Linked DNA regions of Homo sapiens: all the other regions are linked to region 1. The links are contacts of gene promoters, found by promoter capture Hi-C in blood cells and fetal thymus (Javierre and others, 2016). All regions are on one chromosome and are shown on one strand. Each heading gives the region's core, a stretch centred on a gene start or on the middle of the fragment in contact. The rest is flanking DNA. Distances are from core to core; before and after follow the strand shown.

What was found. The method cuts DNA at HindIII sites, captures the fragments that hold promoters and counts their contacts. A CHiCAGO score of 5 or more calls a contact.
Region 2: a contact is called between a fragment that was not itself captured here and the fragment with the promoter of UGGT1 in region 1, in 2 of 17 cell types (naive B cells and naive CD4 T cells). The highest score is 6.1, in naive B cells.
Region 3: a contact is called between the fragment with the promoter of CLASP1-AS1 here and the fragment with the promoter of UGGT1 in region 1, in 4 of 17 cell types (activated CD4 T cells, total CD8 T cells, total B cells and 1 more). The highest score is 6.7, in activated CD4 T cells.
Region 4: the fragment with the promoter of ZRANB3 here is called in contact with the fragment with the promoter of UGGT1 in region 1 in 2 of 17 cell types (monocytes and total B cells); the score reaches 5.5 in monocytes.

The regions. Positions count from the first base shown.
Region 1 is chr2:128,089,361-128,092,709 of GRCh38, reverse strand. UGGT1 (UDP-glucose glycoprotein glucosyltransferase 1) reads right to left here and starts at 1,510. Exons shown (of 41, transcript NM_020120.4): 1 at 1,295-1,510. The coding sequence starts at 1,352. RefSeq lists an enhancer at 1,439-1,748. The HindIII fragment of the contact is 755 bases long and covers 988-1,742 here.
Region 2 is chr2:121,754,370-121,757,682 of GRCh38, reverse strand. It overlaps TSN (translin), which reads right to left and starts at 2,032. Exons shown (of 6, transcript NM_004622.3): 1 at 1,838-2,032; 2 at 350-443. The coding sequence starts at 1,903. RefSeq lists an enhancer at 1,978-2,167. The HindIII fragment of the contact is 5,575 bases long and covers 1-3,313 here.
Region 3 is chr2:121,528,411-121,531,522 of GRCh38, reverse strand. It overlaps CLASP1-AS1 (CLASP1 antisense RNA 1), which reads right to left and starts at 1,355. Exons shown (of 2, transcript XR_001739683.2): 1 at 748-1,355. CLASP1 (cytoplasmic linker associated protein 1) reads left to right here. Exons shown (of 41, transcript NM_001395891.1): 3 at 1,198-1,276; 4 at 2,743-2,846. It overlaps RNU4ATAC (RNA, U4atac small nuclear), which reads right to left and starts at 643; the gene lies at 514-643. RefSeq lists an enhancer at 966-1,095 and a silencer at 1,286-1,485. The HindIII fragment of the contact is 3,511 bases long and covers 1-2,089 here.
Region 4 is chr2:135,529,907-135,533,112 of GRCh38, reverse strand. It overlaps ZRANB3 (zinc finger RANBP2-type containing 3), which reads left to right and starts at 1,895. Exons shown (of 21, transcript NM_032143.4): 1 at 1,895-1,986. It overlaps R3HDM1 (R3H domain containing 1), which reads right to left and starts at 1,629. Exons shown (of 27, transcript NM_001378107.1): 1 at 1,480-1,629. RefSeq lists a silencer at 1,463-1,652 and enhancers at 1,620-1,914, 1,883-2,152, 2,503-2,582. The HindIII fragment of the contact is 14,144 bases long and covers 1,742-3,206 here.

The DNA of each region.
Region 1 (3,349 bases), core at 261-2,760:
ACCAACAAAAAATAAAAAAATAAATTAAAACACTATCTCTTGCACCATTGCACTCCAGCCTGGGTAACAAGAGTGAAACTCCATCTCAAAAAAAAAAAAAAAAAGAAAGAAAGAAAGAAAATTATCACATCATCTTGTATTGTTACAGGGAAACTTAGATAAAAAAAGAAAATGCTCACAGACAGCTGCAGGAAAGTTCTAAGCAAATTTTCTTCTTACTTTCATATATTCCCCTGAAGTTCAATGTGCATTATAAATGTGCTATGCTACTGTACAAAGTATTATGGTCACTTCCTTTAATAAGTTTCATGTGGCCAGGAGTTCAAGATCAGACTGGTAGGTAACAAGACCTCATCTCTACAAAATAAATAAATAAATAAATAAATAAGAATTTTTTTAAAATAAGCTTCAGCTAAGTTTATCAAAAGCAAGTCAAGTGTTGCTAAATTCGACTGGCTTAAAAAAAAAAAAAGCAAAGTGAAAAGGCTACAATTATTCCAAGTTTTGTGGTGCTGTTAAATAGCTATTTAAAATGTCTTCAAACGCCTGCAAGTGTAAGATTCTTGAAGGAAAGAGGGCACTTTACACTAAAATTGGCTGGCAAGTACATCAATGAATGTTTCCAAAACAGTTAGTGTAGCACAATAAGGCAAAAGACCCCAGGACTTCAAACGAACAAAATTGCTCCTTCTCAAATCTGGCAAGAAATGCAAAACAACTGCAGATTCTGGCCAAGGAACAAAAACAGTTCACATCTATAAGTTATTGGCGACGGACGCAGATCTCATTCTGGCAGGTCCCACGCTAAAAGTGAAACCATATCATCCAATTTCCAGCCAACAGATCACAGTGTTAAAAGAAAACAGTAACCAATACGCATCAACCCGAATTCATTTTAGGAAAAATTGAAATCTATTTTAAAAAGCACGTCGTTCTGCAATCAGGGTCCTGCAAAGTGCTGCTTCTCAACTCACTGAGGATCAAGCTTGGTCTAAATCCATGGTAGGATACCTCCCCCATTTCCTTCTGCACTTGGCACAAGGATCTAAAGCTCTTCAAAGAAGGTTCAAGACCGCTGAACAGAGCCCGCCGCCACCCCCGCGGAAGCGATACCTTGCCAAGAAGACCACTGAGGGCAACTCGGGGCGCTCGCGAATAGGGGAAGGGATAGGACACCAGAGGGTAAACTGAGTCACGGTAGAGGCGGAAGCTCAATGTGACAGGGGCACAGGGTCGCCTTGTGCCCCAAACCCTCTCTTTGTCCACGAGGCCTCCTCACGCCACCCCTGGGTACCTGTCACCGGCAGCGCACCCGCGGCACACGCACCGCTCGCGTCTCCCTTGCAGCCCATGCCCGGGCCGTGGTCAGTCCGCCACAGTGCCAGAGACAACGCCAGGGCAGGGCGGGGCGAGGCGGCAGCGGCAGTGCAGGCTGCGCCAGTGAGAGGCCGACACGCGCCTTTCCCGCGGCTCGACTCAACACCCAGCCTCGCAAAGCAATTGCCCAGCTGCCGGCCGCCCTTTTACTTCCGCTTCCTGCAGGCGAACGCTGGAGGACTTCCGGATACCGAGTCGAGACCTAGCAGCCCAGAGCGTCGCGCGGTCGCCCTCTCATCTCCGAGGGTTGGGGAGGGGGGAGTCCTGCCTCTCTCCTCACTTCCGCCTTTCAGGGTGGCGGGTAGGCTGCCGGTCTTCAAGGTCTTGGGAAGGTTCGTTGGGCCAACAGCTGAGACCCGAAAGCTTCAACAGTCAGTCGGTGAAATCCAGTTTGGACTCTGGGACTTACTCCCTTAAACCTTTGTTAAAAGCTTACTCCCTTTAGCCTTTCGGTGGCACAGTAAGGACAATTGTCTTAATGTTTCTGAGCATCTTAGACTTTATACTAAACCCTAAAATTTTGATAGCTACCTTCCAGGAGGCATGATGAAAGGAAGACTTTTTAAATTTTATGAGCCGCTTGAGCTTTCTTATTCGGACAGCGGCAGCTTAGTCTACAGGGACTACTTTGTCCTTTTAGTATTTTTTTTTTAACTAATATAAACCAGTTTAAAATTGTTTTGGAATAGGTAGCATTTAACCCACCCAAAAATGAATACCTCTTTGGAGGGTATATTTTTAAGTATATTAAGTCAAAGTGAATGAAAAGCCAAAAATATTTTTTTGGAGTTGGAGTCTCGCTCTGTCTCCCAGGCTGGAATGCAGTGGCGCGATCTCGGCTCACTGCAACCTCCGCGCCCCCGCCCGCGCCCCCCACCCCCCAACCCCCCGACCCGCATTCAAGCGATTCTCCCACCTCAGCCTCCCCAGTAGCTGGGATTACAGGCGTGCGCCACCGCGCCTGGCTAATTTTTGTATTTTTAGTAGAGACAGGGTTTCACCCTGTTGGCCAGGCTGGTCTCGAACTGCTGACCTCAGATGATCCACCCGCCTCGGCCTCCCAAGTGCTGGGATTACAGGCGTGACCCACTGCGCCCGGCCCAAAATAATTTTAATAAATAAACATGAGCCAACATGATGAAGGGGAGGAAGGAGAGGAGGATGAAGGAGATGACTAATGGAACACTGATGGAGGCCGGGCGCGGTGGCTCACGCTGAGGATGGAGGCTGAGGCAGGAGAATGGCGTGAACCCGGGAGGCGGAGGTTGCTTGCAGTGAGCAGAGATCGCATCACTGCACTCCAGCCTGGGCGAGAGAGGGAGACTCCATCTCAAAAAAAAAAAAAACAGCAACAACAACAGCAAAAAAACACTGATGGATTCCAACCTTCCTTTTTTTACATTTTCTCCAGTCCCTGGGAGCAAGTTGCAGTTTTTTTGTTTTTTTGTTTTTTGTTTTTTCTCTCTTGTGCTCAGTCGCCCTGTTCTTGAGGTTTCTTTTCTCTACACTATAGTTCTCAACTTATTTTGGGGGAAATAACTTCAGCAGAATACAATGGGAAAAGAGTCTCTACCCCTTTCTGTTCGAAATTCATTTTTATCCCTTCCTGTCTGAGCAAAAACTGTATAGAATCAACATCACCCCAGCTCTGTGGGAAAAAAGAAAAACCTGCTCCCTTCGCCCTGCTGGAAGCTGGAGGGCTCTAGGCCCATGTGTAGCAGAGCATTCAATTCTAGCTTTCTTCCTGCTTTCTCTGTATATTGGGCTCGGAGAGTACACTGGGTCTCTATGTGAATATGGACAGTTAGCATTTACCAACATCTTTCTGTCTACTTTCTCTTGTTTAAAAAAAGAAAAAAACTTTAAAAAATGGGATTCTAGAAGTCAGCAAAGGGTGGGTCTGAGATGTTTGGGTGGGTTAAGCGGACATTTTGACAACATGGCTTCTCCTTTGGCATGTTTAATTGCGATG
Region 2 (3,313 bases), core at 44-2,543, 6.3 Mb after region 1:
CTCCGTCTCAGAAAAAAAAAAAATTAAAAAAATAATAATAAACCCTTTTCCCGCTTACCCTGAGAATACTGTGCTGGCAGAGAGCTGCACTTTTTTTTTCTAAACAGGAAATGGGTTAAGCAATTGTAATTATCATCAGTAGAATGCCCTCGCAATAGAAAACATCTCTGTTTAAACCATACTGTGTGGAAGTGGAAGAAAAATCAACCAAAATTATCAAATCACCTACTTCTTCAATTTTTACTCACCATAAAGCATGATAGCCATTTTTCATTATAAAATGTCTTCTGGATAGAAACTCTCCCTCTAAATAAGAGACTGATAATTGGATACAAAACAAAGAACTTACTGTCCTGAAACCCAGCACCCTGATGGACCCCTTGCAGTAGAGTTAAAATCTCTCGAGCTGTTTGTTCTAAACTCTGTACAACTTTTCTGATTTCCTAGAGAGAATTAAAAATAAAAATCAGATACTCAACAGAATCATTGTCATACACTCACACAAAACACATTAGATAGCTTATGTGATCTATCATAACCAAGTTTGAATCCTGACTTTTCCACTTATTTCCTCTGTAAGACTTCAAAAAGTCACTAAAAAGCCTTAGATTCCTCAGATACCCTTTAAAGAATAATAGCCACCCATTAAACCCAAGTATTCAATTGGGACATTATAATGGATGACGTGTGTGAACGCAACTTGCAAAATGAAGAGTTAAATGCAACACAAGAGTCGGGTATTTCTAATTCTTTTTTCTTTTTTTTTTTTTTTTTGAGACGGAGTCTCGCTCTGTCACCCAGGCTGGAGTGCAGTGGCGCGATCTCAGCTCACCGCAACCTCCGCCTCCCGGGTTCACGCCATTCTCCTGCTTCAGCCTCCCGAGTAGCTGGGATTACAGGTGTGCGCAACCATGCCCAGTTAATGTTCTTTTATATTTTTAGTAGAGACAGGGTTTCCCCATGTTGGCCAGGCTGGTCTCAAACTCCTTACCTCAGGTGATCTGGCCGCCTCGGCCTCCCAAAATGCTGGAATTACAGGCATGAGGCGCCGCTCCCCGCCTCTAATTCATTTTTAAAATATTCACTGAGCATACTTATGTGCGAGGCACTGTGTAAATACCGGGGAACCAAGCACACAATCCCTTCCCTCTGGCGGTTTAACATACAATGAGGGAGAAGATTTTTTTAAAATAATCAATATTACACACATTAAAAAAAGTTAATGTGCTACTAGAAAACATAACAGGAAATAGATCGCTTAGACTGTGACGCCAATGAGATAAATACGAGACAATCAGGAAAAGAACGGGAAAGAAGCAAATTCCAGGAAAAGCAAACAGGCAGGAAGCTATTTGGGGCACTAGAAGAGGTAAAGTGAACATCATACACAAAGACAGAGAGCATAAACGAGATTGAAGAGAAACCATGTGAGCCACAGTAGAGTCTGATTTTTTATCCTGTGTGGCATAGGAAATCACAGGAGAGTTTTAAGCAGATCACATGTGCTTTTAAGACACCAACAAAAATACACGAAACGCTCATTCGCTGAAGACCAGGTGCTAATCGAGCCTTCGATATAAACAAGTGCTGAAAAGAAGGAAAACTGACACAAACGAGGCAAGTGATGCTGAGAAGCTGAGACTCGAACACGGGGAATCAGGACAGAGCAGCAAAATTTTGGGCGGGGGCGGGGAGTGCCTAACCTAAAGCTAGAGGGGAAGCAACCCACCCTCGGAGGCGTCCCCACCGCCCGAGACTGAGCGACAGAGGAGGGCCGGGCGAAGTGGCCCAACTAGGCATGGAAAGGCAAAGGGAATGGGGAAGGGAGGGGGCTCGCCTCTCGGATGTCCTGCTCGGCAGCCAAAAAGCCCTGCAGCTCCACGAAGATCTCGCTCACAGACATGGCGCCGGCTGCACAACAATCAGCCAGTGTAGCAAGGGCGGCCAAGGAAGTGGACGCCGCAGGCAACCAGCGCAATCAATCGCAACGGCCGCCGCTACCGCCGCGTCCCCCCGGTCTTACGCCACGACCGTCGCTAGGGTCCTCCGAGGCTCGCGGCGCGCCGGAGGACGGGCTGTCCGCCGCGCTGCCTGAGGCGCCGTCCGCTGCGTTCGGAACCGAGGCGCGCGTCCAAAGGGCAGAGGAGAGGGAGAGTGGGCGGGGCCTCAGTCTGAGGCCTTCAGACAGGCATCGCCAGAAACAACCTGCGAAGGCGGCCCTCGGAGCACGTGGGCCTGAGGGAGGGCGGGGACGGGCGTGTAGGTGGTGCGGGCAAGTGGGGCTGGTTAGCTTATATGTGTGTATTTATTTCATACACAACAACAGTTGGAGGGAAATATTTGACAACGAAAGAGTATGCACAAAAAACAGGTGCAGAAGAATGTAGAGAGAGTTCAGCCTTCGTGAGAGAGTAGGGGGCCAGTGCATTTCCAAAAAAAAGGAAAATAAAAGTAACGTATGTAGGACTGTGAGTAGGGAATGGATTGGGAGCGAAAATTTTCTGTGTAGATCTTTTAATGTCTTCTCTGTATGGCTGTATTACCTATTTTTAAATTAAACGGCTTTTTTAAGCGTGTGCGGTGGGATGTTTCTCTTTCCACTCACACCTTGTCCTAATTCCCCTTCCATGCCCTATAACGGTTTCCCCTTTCATGCCCTATAACGGTTTCCCCTTTGTTCTTGAAGAGTTATTTCATACACACATACTGTGTGTGTGTTCTTGAACAGTTATTCCATACACAAATACAGTGTGTGTGTGTGTTGCACTCGCCAGATGAATTGGAATGATTCTTATCAACTAAATGATAATTTATTGCTTGCTTTGTTTCTGACATTATTCTAAACTCTTTACATGAAGGATCATATTTAATTCTCATTATATGAGAATAATTTCATGTCCATGAAGAAGACAGTAAGACCACTAGCACCTACATTTTTAAAAAACTATCGGCCGGGCGCAGTGGCTCACACCTGTAATCCCAACACTTTGGGAGGCCAAGGCGGGCAGATCACAAAGTCAGGAGTTCGAGACCAGCCTGACCAACATGGTGAAACTCCGTCTCTACTAAAGATACAAAAACTAGCCGGGCGTGGTGGCGCGCGCCTGTAATCCCGGCAACTCGGGAGACTGAGGCAGAAGAATCGCTTGAACCCGGGAGGCACAGGTTGCAGTTAGCCGAGATCACACCACTGCACTATAGCCTGGGCAACAGACTCCGTCTCAAAAAAAATAAAAAACCCTTTCTTATCTCGTGTTTGTTCTCCCAAAACCCATTCGTCTGTCCTAAAGAATCCTATTTGTTCTCATACAAA
Region 3 (3,112 bases), core at 106-2,605, 6.6 Mb after region 1:
CCCGGATTCACGCCATTCTCCTGCCTCAGCCTCCCGAGCAGCTGGGACTACAGGCGCCGGCCACCTCGCCCGGCTAATTTTTTGTATTTTTAGGAGAGACGGAGTTTCACTGTGTTAGCCAGGATGGTCTCGATCTCCTGACCTCGTGATCCGCCCCCCTCGGCCTCCCAAAGTGCTGGGATTGCAGGCGTGAGCCACCGCGCCCGACCTGGATTACATTTTATGTGAGGTGCAAAGACCTACTGAAACTTCGTCTCCTATTGAAACTTGACCTAGACTACTGGGCTGACTCAGCATAAGGAAGTTACAGAACAGTTGATGATCGGCGTAAAGTTAAAGGGGTGAAGTTCTGTTGAAATCCTTCCCGTTTAATCACCGCAAAAACTGAAAGAACTTTACTTGCGACACTAAAACCACGCGTCTTGTGCACCCTCTACTGGTTTAACCACAAAGTACTAGTTTATTTACGAATTACTGCTGTTTGAACTGATAAGTCTATGAAAACAGGTTTTCATTTTTCCAAAAATTGCACCAAAATAAAGCAAAAGCTCTAGTTGATGCGGGTGTGTTGTTCAGGCGTTAGCAGTACTGCCCTCACTATGCGCTCATTGGACAGTAGCGCAACCCCAAGAAAAGGATGGTTATAATAGAAAGTCCCTGGGCTGCAAGCAGGAAGCGCCAATACCTGGTAGGGTTGTGGTAATTAATTCGTGAGCCTCGCCCTAGTCGGTCTGGTAGCTAGCTTACCTCCAGCCTCCACAGCTTTCGACGACACCCCAATTCTTTGTTTTCTGAGGCTCCCGAAGGGTCGCAAAAGCGGCGGCTCGGTTTTACCCAGAAGACCGCGCGTCGGCCGCTCGAAAATTTGCATACGCTTTTCTCGCCGGGGCGGGGCTGGCGGGGGCGGGACCGCGGCGCGCTCTTGAACTCCACCCGCAGCTAACCCGGGTTTGGCTACGCTGTATTGCCTTTTATTTCGTTTCTCCTCACCGAGTATTTTCCATTATAGCTGTACATAGCTCTTTTTGTGGAAGATCATCCTTCTTCGTGCTAATCTCTTTGGTCCTCCAGTCGGCATGCGTCTGGACTCTCGGACTGCGTCTGGGCCGGAAATGTCTAGGCCTCCCCGGAGCGGGTGGGCGGGAGCGCTGCCCCGCAGGCCGGCTGCTAACAGGCTCCCGGTGTTTCCCGCTGCAGGTGGTTCTGCTGGGCATGGACATCCTGTCCGCCCTGGTGACCCGGCTGCAGGATCGGTTCAAGGCGCAGATCGGCACAGGTGAGCTGCGGCACTTGTGGAGCGGACCCGGCCCCTTCAGACCCCCAGCCTTCCCTCGGCCTCCCCGGCTCCCAAACCCTCCCGGCAGCCACCCTGCCTCCCCTCCAGCCCCCTCTCCCTCCCTTCCGCTCCTCCCAAACAGCCAGTCCCCGCCCTCCCCCGCAGCCCCCCTAAGCACTCGCAGCCTGGGTCGGCCGCCCCGCTGCCTTCCCTTCCAGCTGGACTCCCCTGGCCTCTGGGCCTGCGGGCGCCCTTACCCTCCCCCATACCTTTGTACTGGCTTCACTGTGTTCTCACACGGAACTTAGTAATACGTGTTCTAATATGAAATATTAGTGCCATTTTTATTTCTTATGCTAAATTAGCTGTCACTCTTTAGTGCCAACCAAGTCATATTTTACCCTGACCCCGGTCCCCTTTAATGAGAGGCAGTTTTCCTTGAGAAATCCTATAAAACCAAGCCAGTTGTATTTTTCTCCAGATGATTATGGTTGGCATGACTATTTTCACCTTGATTGTAAATGTCATTACAAATGTATAGTAAATGTTCACTCTTATTTTGAAGGGAAAACAGTATGTCAGCAAAATGAAACAAAACCCACAGATTTCATAGATTTAAATACCTCTAAATTCCTGACCTCCGGTGTTTCATGGGGGTAGTATAAACACTAAGCATCTCTATGCAACCATTTCCTTATGGAATTTCTCTGTTTTACGTTGGTACACATGTATTCTTTACTGTTAACTTTCCGACCAATATGCTCCTTCTGAAAAGGTCATGAGCACCGACTGTTTACAAATTTAAAAAAAGCTTTTACTTTTAGACATTTGATATTTTAATAGTGTTCCATTTTCCTCCTAAATTAGCTGAATTATTCAGGGATATCTCATGTAATAGAGGTTTACAAACTCTTAAAATAAGCTGATCTCTGGTCTACAGGTGCACTTGGACCACTGGTGGGAGGGTCCACCCTGGGTATGTCGGGGAAGATGGAGAGCTGGGCTCTGTCTCATGTGTGTATGGGCGTGATGTAAAACTAAAAATACACAATAGTGATGAAACTTAAGATTTATTCATAAGTGCCCACTCCTTCCACCCCCAAACACATATACTGGAGCCCCTCTCCTTGTGTTTTACCTAAATTTTCCTTTCTGTTGACTCTTCCTCTCAAGGTCTTCCATTTTTATCAGCTTACAAATACGTTGGGAACTGGCTGGAGGAACGTGGGGTAAGGAGGAAGACAAATAGTGTATCTGTCCATGCAAAGGATTTTGCAGACTCTTTTGGTGACTTTCATGGACTTCAGCAAGGAGAGTAGAGCTGTGAGCAAAGATGAGTGGTTTTAGAATGAGATACATCATTTAGGTCAGGGGTTTGTCTTCCCACATAATTGAGATAGGAATACTTGGTGACCACAGACCCCCAAATAGGGTTTCATTTGATCAGTTTCCATTTTGATTTTCAGTGCTGCCAAGTCTAATAGACAGACTAGGAGATGCTAAAGACTCTGTGAGGGAGCAGGACCAAACTCTGCTGCTAAAGATCATGGATCAAGCTGCTAATCCCCAGGTAGGGGCAAGAGATGTGTTTTGAGGTCAGCTGGCCAGTGCGCGTGCATGCACGTGCGAGGGTGTGTGTGTGTACTTGCACAAATGGTGTGACTCCATAGACTTAAGCTGATGTATTACAGATAAAAATTTTCACAGCATTCAATCTGTTTCCCCATGCAAGATATTTAAATAAGTCACAAAACTATGAGATGAGTAAATTAGTGGATTTAACATGGGGGTATTGAATCTAATATACTTAGTTTTAATCCATTAGACTCTTCAGCT
Region 4 (3,206 bases), core at 646-3,145, 7.4 Mb before region 1:
TATCTATGTCAATTCTGTAACTAGGTGTACTAGTTATGGAATACAGAAGATCATTAAGCCACCATAGTCTTCTCAAACCCTGAAGAAATGATCAAAACTCAGATGTTTCCTCAGAACCCAAGTTTATTCTGCTAACAAGTAAACCTCAGAAATGGGCCTAGAATTTTATCTCTGATCACAGTTATGTCTACTACAGACTATAGAATCCATGATTTAAAGACATATTCTTCCAGGCATAAAAGCAGAGTGGTATTTGAAAAGACGAGCGTACTCCATCAAAATGTGATGAAGAAATCATAACAGAATGCCCTAAAAATAGCCAAATATGCCAAATTTTTAGAAATTGAGACGTGTCCAATTATTCCTGTCAGACTGGTATCCTATTACTTAGAAGATCTTGTTTCACATATTATAAATGGGTAGACTTTCAGTTTGACTTTAATCATCTTTTCATTTAAAAGTTTTTGTCATCAATGATATTTAAGCTAAAAAAGGTTTCTTACAGTTACAATTAGGTAAACTATAACCATGAAGATATATATATATATATTTAGAAAATTTTATTAGAAAAACCATTTGCTGTTCACTAATCCTAATTTGGAAAGCACCTCTTCTTCACCTTTTACTTAACTATCCCAGGACAATTACACACGGAGCATGATAGTCCCAATAATTTAAGTTTCTTTATAAAAACAAGCTCAACAGAGTCACCCTTTGCACCTAGTCACAGCAACAAAAGAAAACAAAACACCAAAAAACTTCAAAGCCCACAAAGATTTGTTGGCAGCCTAAGGCTCAGGAATCAAAACGTGTGTAAATCTGATCCCGGGGGACCGTGGCACTGACAGTCATTCAACTTTCTTTTTAATATTCCCATTGTGCTTTTTCTGGTACCACAGGGAAAATGTACCTACATTTTACCAACCGGTCGAAGCTGAAAATTCTCTTGGTGCAAGGCCAGGGGATGCGGCCGTGGGGCGGCCGGGGGAGCCCGGGGCACCGGCGCCAGCCACACGAGAGAGCAGTACCACGCTCTTGGCAGGCCTGCTGTGGCTGGCTCCCGAGTCCCTGGGGCTGCAAGAGCAGCCGCGGAGGCAGCAGCAGCAGCCATGGCAGGGACTCGGAAACCTTTCCCCTGCCTCCTCCGCTAGGCCTCGAGGGGTTTGCTTTTCACATGGCCCCCGGGTGGGGGCGGTGGGCACAAGGCAGTGGCTGCAGCTGCAGCCGGAGCCGCAGCCGCGGGCCAGGCGAGCCTGGCTCACTCGGAACCCGACCTAACGGCGGGCTGGCAGCAGCGGGACGTCAGAAGGCCCTGGCTGAAGCGCCGACGACCCGGCGGGGAAGGCCACCTTTCCACACACCACATCTCTCCCCTGCCTGCCTCCTTCTCCGTTAGCGCTACCGGTTGGCGGGCGGGGGAGGGGAGCAAGGCGCGTTATTCCCGGGGAGCTGGACGGGGGAGGGAAGGGCATCTCTTACCCGCGTTACTGAGGAGGAGGAGGCGGTTGGAGCGCGGCGCGGCGGGGCGACGGCGGGGCTGGGTGGGTGCAAGTAAGAGTCTTACGAAAGGGAATTAACCCCATCACCAGCCCGGACACCGGCTCCAGCGGCAGCCGCGGCTGGCAGAATCCCGCCCCTTCCCACCACGCACTAGCCCCGCCTCTTCGTTCTCTTTGAGCGGCAGCCGACTATTCATAGGTTGTACGTCCCCGGAGTGACATGAGTTTTGCCCAATCAAGCTTGAAAAAAACTGTCTTCTCTCCACCCCTTTACCTCCTCCCAGGCCGCGGAGAGCCGTGCCAAATCTTCCTCCAACCTCAAGAGAAAAAGAACCAATCCGTGGTAAGTAACCGCCCTTGAAGGACGCAAAAGCCAACCAATGGTAAAACTAGGAGGACAGCCATTTTGCCCACTTGTAAAAGAGCTACCTTTTCCCACGAGTTGGAGCCTGAGGTGCGGAGTTTCGTGAGTTTTTACTGACTCGAGGTATTTAAAAGACAACCAGATCTCCTCAGTGGGTATTTATAGTGCTTTTTAGGGGTAAAGGAAAATTATCCTCCATGTGGGGCGAAGTGAGGCATGCTGCTTAAGGGGTTGGCTCCTCCCCTTAGCGCTAACGGGTTCTGAAACGAACACCTGGTTTCTCCAGCTTCAGTGGCGGAGGGCGGGGTGATTGCTCTTTTCGGCCTGGAGCGGACTACGATTCCCAACATGCTTTTCCCCTACTCATAACTTCTCCTCCGTTCACTTGTCGCGGTGCTTGGCTGGAATTGTAGTTCCTGAGAGGTACCCATGCCGCCGCTTCAGCCAATGAAAAGGGACAGAGTTTTGAATGACTTGAAATTAGGGCGGAGAACGAGTTGTCGCGAGGCTGTACAGAGCCCTTTTCGCAACCCTAACGGGAGAGAAGTGATGGAAGAAGGGTAGCCGGAAGAGTTTCCTCAAAATACCATAGGGGTTTTAAATTATTAGTACGTATTTAAACTCATCTACTTTCACGTTGTCCCGTTGAACGTCACTTCCGCTTAGGGGCGGACACGTCCCAAACCTGTGGCGGGAGTTGGAGATTCTGCGGCGAATACGCCAGGTGTGACTGGCTGGAAGTGGCGTGGCTGGCAAGTCGCTAGTTTCTTGCATGGGAGATAAAAAGTTGAACGGAATTTAATGGCATTTTAAGAAAGAGTGGGTGACATGGGATGGGGGTAATTTCCAGGGCCCTTATTACTTTCTCCACCCCGGCCTTCAATCGCGGGCGTCTCGGCCTGCTCGCTATTAGATTGCACGGCTAAATTTGTAGAAAGTACCTCTACTGCCTTTAGTCTTCGCGTGGTCAGTTTGAACTGTAAAGACAGGGCTCCGAAGTTCTGAACTACATTTACAGACACACTTTTTTTTTTTTTTTTTGAGACGGAGTCTTGCTCTGTCCCCAGGCTGGAGTGCAGTGGTGGGATCTTGGCTCACTGATTCACGCCATTCTCCTGTCTCAGCCTCCGGAGTAGCTGGGATTACAGGCGCGCGCCACTCAGCCCAGCTAATTTTTTGTATTTTTAGTAGAGACGGGGTTTCACCATGTTGGCCAGGATGGTCTCGATCTCCTGACCTCGTGATCCGCCCACCTTGGCCTCCCAAAGTGCTGGGATTACAGGCGTGAGCCACCGCGCCCGGCCACAAACACACTTCTAAAGTCAGCTTGGAAGGAAAAGAGT